Regions from separate parts of the Homo sapiens genome. Here region 1 is linked to region 2. Evidence: promoter capture Hi-C in human tissues and cell types (Jung and others, 2019). All regions are on one chromosome and are shown on one strand. Each heading gives the region's core, a stretch centred on a gene start or on the middle of the fragment in contact. The rest is flanking DNA. Distances are from core to core; before and after follow the strand shown. Region 1 overlaps MMP24-AS1-EDEM2 (MMP24-AS1-EDEM2 readthrough). Region 2 holds the start of ERGIC3 (ERGIC and golgi 3).

Evidence for each region. The method cuts DNA at HindIII sites, captures the fragments that hold promoters and counts their contacts. A contact is called where the count stands out against the background at its distance.
Region 1: a fragment that was not itself captured here is called in contact with the fragment with the promoter of ERGIC3 in region 2 in 2 of the 25 tissues and cell types used here (IMR-90 fibroblasts and spleen).

What each region holds. Positions count from the first base shown.
Region 1 is chr20:35,258,179-35,260,878 of GRCh38, reverse strand. The region is part of intron 2 of MMP24-AS1-EDEM2 (MMP24-AS1-EDEM2 readthrough); the gene reads left to right. All of the region lies in intron 4 of MMP24 (matrix metallopeptidase 24), which reads right to left. Among named protein-coding and RNA genes, the nearest start is that of MMP24-AS1-EDEM2, 19 kb to the left of the region's middle. The HindIII fragment of the contact is 5,720 bases long and covers 1-2,700 here.
Region 2 is chr20:35,540,691-35,543,674 of GRCh38, reverse strand. ERGIC3 (ERGIC and golgi 3) reads right to left here and starts at 1,597. Exons shown (of 13, transcript NM_015966.3): 1 at 1,490-1,597; 2 at 1,282-1,352; 3 at 1,075-1,162; 4 at 734-853. The coding sequence starts at 1,577. RefSeq lists an enhancer at 1,836-1,925. The HindIII fragment of the contact is 35,337 bases long and covers 1-2,984 here.

The sequences.
Region 1 (2,700 bases), core at 89-2,588, 280 kb after region 2:
GGCCTTCCTGGCTTAGGTCTCTGGAAGAGAGAAGAACCCCATGGGGCAGACCCAGGCCACGGGCAGTACATGCCTCCCACACTACTGACACCGCCAGTGTCTTCTGTGAAGCCACCTTTGAGCAACGGAAAGGAAGGGGGATGGGCAAGATCAGTGCAAGGTTGGCCAAAAGCCTGGGGCTGGCCTTCTGCTGGCATGAGAGGGCCAGGCCGCCCCCAGCTCCTTACTCAGGTCCTGGCCCCTCTGGCAGCAGGGAAGGGTGAGCTCATCGCTGAGCTCCATCCCAAACAAACTGGTAGAGCCAGCGGAAGGCAGCTCTGCTTCCTGGGGTCCAGTCCTGGCTGTGCTCCTGGGCTATTCTATGACCTGGGACAAGCTGTTCAGGGCCTCTGTCTCCTGAGCAGGCTCTTCCCCAGGGGCTGTCCACAGGGAGCTCAGCTGGGAACCAGGGAACACGGCTCTGAGCACTGTGGGAGACTCAAAACCTTTGTCCGCAGCCTTGTCTCTTGCTCTTTTAACCCCTGTTCTGGGTCTGCAGAGAACAGGAGTGACCCCTTAAAGGAAAGAGGCCTGTGGTTTGGGTCCAGGAACCAAAAGGAAGGGAAGAGCGAGGGAGCCAGTATCCTGCTGCACAGAAACCCAAGAGAGCCCTGAGGGGGAGACAGAGGGAGCAGGGCAGGGGCAGGAGGACTCCCTGAGCTTGTGAGGTGAAGGCAGAGGTATGAGGAGGAGAGGCCTGCTATGAGGACCCCATGCTCCATGGGCAGGAGGCTGCTAGGGTCTTCACTCTTCAAGAGGGTGAGCGGCAGGGAAGCAGAGTGGTCAGGAATGCAGTCTCTGGGAGCCAGACTGCCTGGTTTTGAATCCCAGCTCTGCCATGTCCTAGCAGTGTGACATTTTAAATTCTTCCTCTGGAAGATAGAAGGAACAATGGCACCTTCGTCATAGGGATGTGGGTGAAGATTCATGGGGCAGGGTGTGTAATGCGCTGATACCAGCTCCTGGTACAGAAGTATTACCCTTCATTAGCAGGGTCCTGTTGAGCTGTGTGTGAGCACCAGCACCCCTGATAGGGTGTGTTCCTGTAAGTCCCTGGGCCTCCGAGCAAGTCCCCAGCAGTCTACTCGGCTACTCAAGTGGACCTTGTCTCTGCCTCATTTCTTTCTTTTAGGATCTCCATATTTGGTCGTTCCCATCTCATTAACTCCCCCAGCCCCACGAAAGGTGATAGCATTTCCCTTTGCCTCTGTTCTTCTGCCAGTGCTGCCCCTTCCCCTGGAATAACCTGATTCCTTCAAAGTTCAGCTCCATGCCTGTCTTCCAGGAAGCCTTCCATGACTTCCCAGCTGGCAGTGAGTGCTCCTTCTGCTGTGCCCTCCCAGCAGTTTCCCTGAACTGCCTTTATGGCACTGACCGCTTCCTCCCCACGTGATTGCCACTAGTGCACATGCTCGCTGCCCCAGGACTGTGGGTTCCTTGAGGACAAGCTTTGTGTTGAAGAACCAGGTGACAGCCCCCGGAATGGAACAGCGCCAAAAGCACCGTATTTTACCAAGGGAAATACTCGGACCACCTGCAGCAGAACCACCTGTGGTGACTTAAAAATGCGGAGTCCTGGGGTCACACCTGGCTCTGCCACTTTCCAAAGGGGTGAATTTCCTATTTTTTTAAAAAGTATTTTCTTTCTTTTTTATTTTTGAGACAGGATCTCACTCTGTCACCCAGGTTGGAGTGTAGTGGTGCAATCTCGGCTCACTTGAACCTCCGCCTCCCGGGTTCAAGCCATTCTCCTGCCTCAGCCTCCCGAGTAGCTGGGATTACAGGCATGTGCCACCACACCCGGCTAATTTTTGTATTTTTAGTAGAGACGGGGTTTTGCCATGTTGGCCAGGCTGGTCTCGAACTCCTGACCTCAGGTGATCTGCCCCCCCTCGGCCTCCCAAAGTGCTGGGATTACTCCAGTGCTCCCATCGCACCTGGCCCGGGGAGCCTTTTAAACACATGGAGGAGGTGGGGAAGATATTCTGATTCAGGAGGTTTGGTTTGGGACGTAGGCAATCTTTTTTGTTGTTTTTTTTTTTTAAGTTCTCCAGGTGAATTGTATAATGGTTGGGTCAGGCTGACACAACCTGAAGCAAATGCTCGACCTCAACATCACTAAAAGTGGGACAGTCTGCATCATATGTATTTGCTAATATGGTGAATAGGAAGTACCAGCACCACCTAGGAAGTATTCTTGCCAAAAAAATTGAACTTGAATCTAGTCAGCCTGTAAATCTAATGAACAACATTCAGGAATTATGGGCAAGAGAGACGTATTAAAAGTAAACTTGATTCTAGTCACGCCAAATGATTATACTCGGGACACCTGACCCAGTTTCTTCAACAAATATATGGAGGGAAACGTGTGTGTAGGACGGGGGTGTTTTAAATAAAAAGGGCTTTAAGAGACATGTCAGCCATGTGTGTGTGGATCTTGTTTGGATCCTGATTCAAGCAAACAACTGTAAAAGACATTTCCAAGGTACTTTGGGAAAGTGAACTCGAACTGGGTATTAGATTTTAAAAAATTATTGTTAATTTTGTTGGGCTTGATAATGATTGTGTGCTTATGTTAAAAATTAGCCTTTATCTGTTAGAGGTATATACTAAAGTATTTAAAGGTGAAATGTTAGAATGCCTGAGATTTTCTTTAAAATA
Region 2 (2,984 bases), core at 348-2,847:
TGTCCTGCATTAATCTGCTGAAACAACGAATGATAAAACTCCCCACCAGAGTAATCTCTAAGGTGTTAGAAATCCCAGCTTTGAGGACAGTTTGCTGTGGTGGGAAACTGAGTTAACGAAGGGAATTGGGAAGCCACCAAGATAAAGGAAAGGAAGGTAAAAGTGGGTACCCACTCTGTACCAGGCATTTTACACATATGACTTCATTTGATCTTACAATTCCATGTGGTTGGTACTACTGTTTTATTACCACTTTCTAGCTGAAGCTCACAGACTGCAGGAGACAAAGCTAGATGTGAACCCAGGCAATCTGACTTGAGAACCTAAATTCTCATTAAACCACCTGCATTCCAAAGGGGAAGAGCATTAAGGGCTGAATTAAGCCAATGGGCTGGGAAAGCAAACACTCAAAGAAGCCTGGGTCCATCTAGACAGTTCTACCAAGGCAAGAGCACATAAGACCTATCTTCAAACCTCTGGTATTCAAACTACCATCTGCAGGTATTGAGGACCTCTGAGAATAATAGCCAGGTAGATTACCTGACTCGATATGTATAGAGGATTTTAGCTCACTCTGACTCTTACTAGCTGGGGGACCCTAGGCAAGTCACTTGACTTCTCTAGCTCTTAGTTGTTTAATGTATCACTATGCCTGCCACAGTTCACTTGCTAGCAGATAGGCTTGGGTACATCCAGCTTTGGGATCTGAGACCCGGCCCCCTCCCCTGGTTACCATGCCGCTCAGCCTCTGAGCTCACGGGGATGCCATCTTTATCTAGTCGTTGCTTGAACAGGTTGTGTTCCACATCCAGCTGCTGTTCTCCGGCCACATCCATGGCATCAATACTCAGATCTGGAAGCAGGAAAATCAGGCTAAGGTACTGGGACCCTAGGGACAAGGGGATGTGGGTTTTGGAGGGGAAGGGGATACTGGGCCTGTCTTGGGGCAGAACGGGATGAGGAGAAGGAGGTTGTCCTGGGGTCCAGTCCAGAACCTAAGGGTGGAGGTGTGAATCTGGCAGCCCACATGAGAACCCTGGGTCTCTCCAGTCCCACCCATGGTGAGGTACTCACAGGCACAAGGCATGTGCGGAAAAAGTACATCGATGTTGATCTTCAGTTTATCTCCCCGCGACTTGTCCACGTAGAGCTCAGGATGCACCTGGGGCAGCGCTACCTCAGTAAGACTTAGCCCCAAACCTCTCCTTCCCCACTCCCACCCCTAAAGGTCCTACTCCTAGAATGCCAAGCCCCGCCCACGCACTAAGCCCCGCCCCTTACCTCCGTGGTGAGGTAATACTGCAGCTCGGACAGGAACAGTAGCAGCATGAGAAGGCCACTGACAATGGTCACTGCAGGACAAGGGGCGAGGGTCAGAATGGCCTCGAATCCGCTCCCTCAGACACCGGCAGGCCAGTCAGAGTCCAGGAGCCCGGGCTAAGCTCTAGGACGCCCCCCTCCACGCGACCCCGGCCCCGCTGCGGCCTACCGGTGGCGCCCCCGCAGGTCTTGACCCGGAAGTCCTCCAAAGTCTTGGGGTAGGCATCGAACTGCTTCAGCTTCCCCAGCGCCTCCATGGGGACCGGCCGGAAAGGGGACGCCAGCCGGCCCGCCCCTACAGACTCCCTCTTCCGGCCTGGAGCCACGCCCCCCTCTTTTTCCTCACGCAGGCGCAGCAAACCGCACGCTTGGCCCCACCTTTAGCCGCGTTCTCTTACAGGCGGCCCCGCCCAACGATGCTGCCACGCCCCCTTGCGCGGGCAATTGGGTCTGGAAGCTACTGCCCCGGCCTCCGCTGTCCGGGGCGGGATTTTGAGGACTGGGGTGCGAGGAGTTCTCTGCGGGGTTAGAAACGCTAATAGCACCGTTCGTGTGCCTTGTGCTCGGAACTGCACCAGGTGTTTAAGACTCTTGGAACATCTTGGAATATCCTGGAACAGTGGTTTTTCGAGTGTACCGGACCGGCCGCATCATTATCAACTGATTACCTATTAGAAATGCAAATAATTGATTCCCACCTACTGAAGCCGAAACGCTAGGAATGGCATCGGATGATTCTGATGTAAAGTAAGGGTGTCCGCCCTGAAAGCAGGTGTGACTTATCTCCGTTTTCCAAAGAGCAAACTGTGACCTGGAGAAGTTAAATAACTTGCCCAAGATCACAGCCAATTAATAGCAGGACCTGCTTCCAGCCCAGTTCTTCTGGACCTCAAAGTACTCTGGGAATCAGGGTCTTTTGGGTTGATTTTACCTAAACAGCGTCCCAGTGCTTCTCCTGAGCGCTGCTTTCTGAATATTACCCTAAATTGCTCTCCAGGCCCTGGGATCCTCACGGACACGCTCTATCCCTCCAGGTTTAGACTCAAGTGATATGGAGCTTAAGCTCTCCCTGACACTTCCCATTGCAGCCCAGTGTCTCTAGAGGGACAGCTCCCACAGTAATGCAGCTGCAATGAGTAAGATATAAAAGCTCATAGGCTTTCATACAGGAATTCCACTTTAGGAAGTAAAAGCACCATGTCAAGGTTAATAGAAAAATTTTGAAAAAGAAAAAATATGTAAGCAGCTATCCAAGGTTAACAGAAAAAAATTTTAATATAAGGATAAAAGTACCATGATCTGGGTGGTTGTTACACCTTAAGATATTGAATCTGTCTCTTAAAGATTTTAAGTGCACCACATCATAAAGATGTATGCATGAGATTGTTCAATGGCAAAAATCTGGAACCAGCCAGAATGCCCACTGATACATTAAATAAATTGAATAAATCACGATACACCCATTCTATGGAATATTAGGCCACTTTTCAAAAGAATGAGGTAGATTTACTCCTTTAGGTATACTAAGAATGTATTTTTAAGGGGGAAAAGATGCAAAGTAATGTGCATTCCATCATTCCATTTTTTAATTAAAAATTGGGCTGGGCACAATGGCTCACACCTGTAATCACAGCACTTTGGGAGACCGAGGAGGATCACATGAG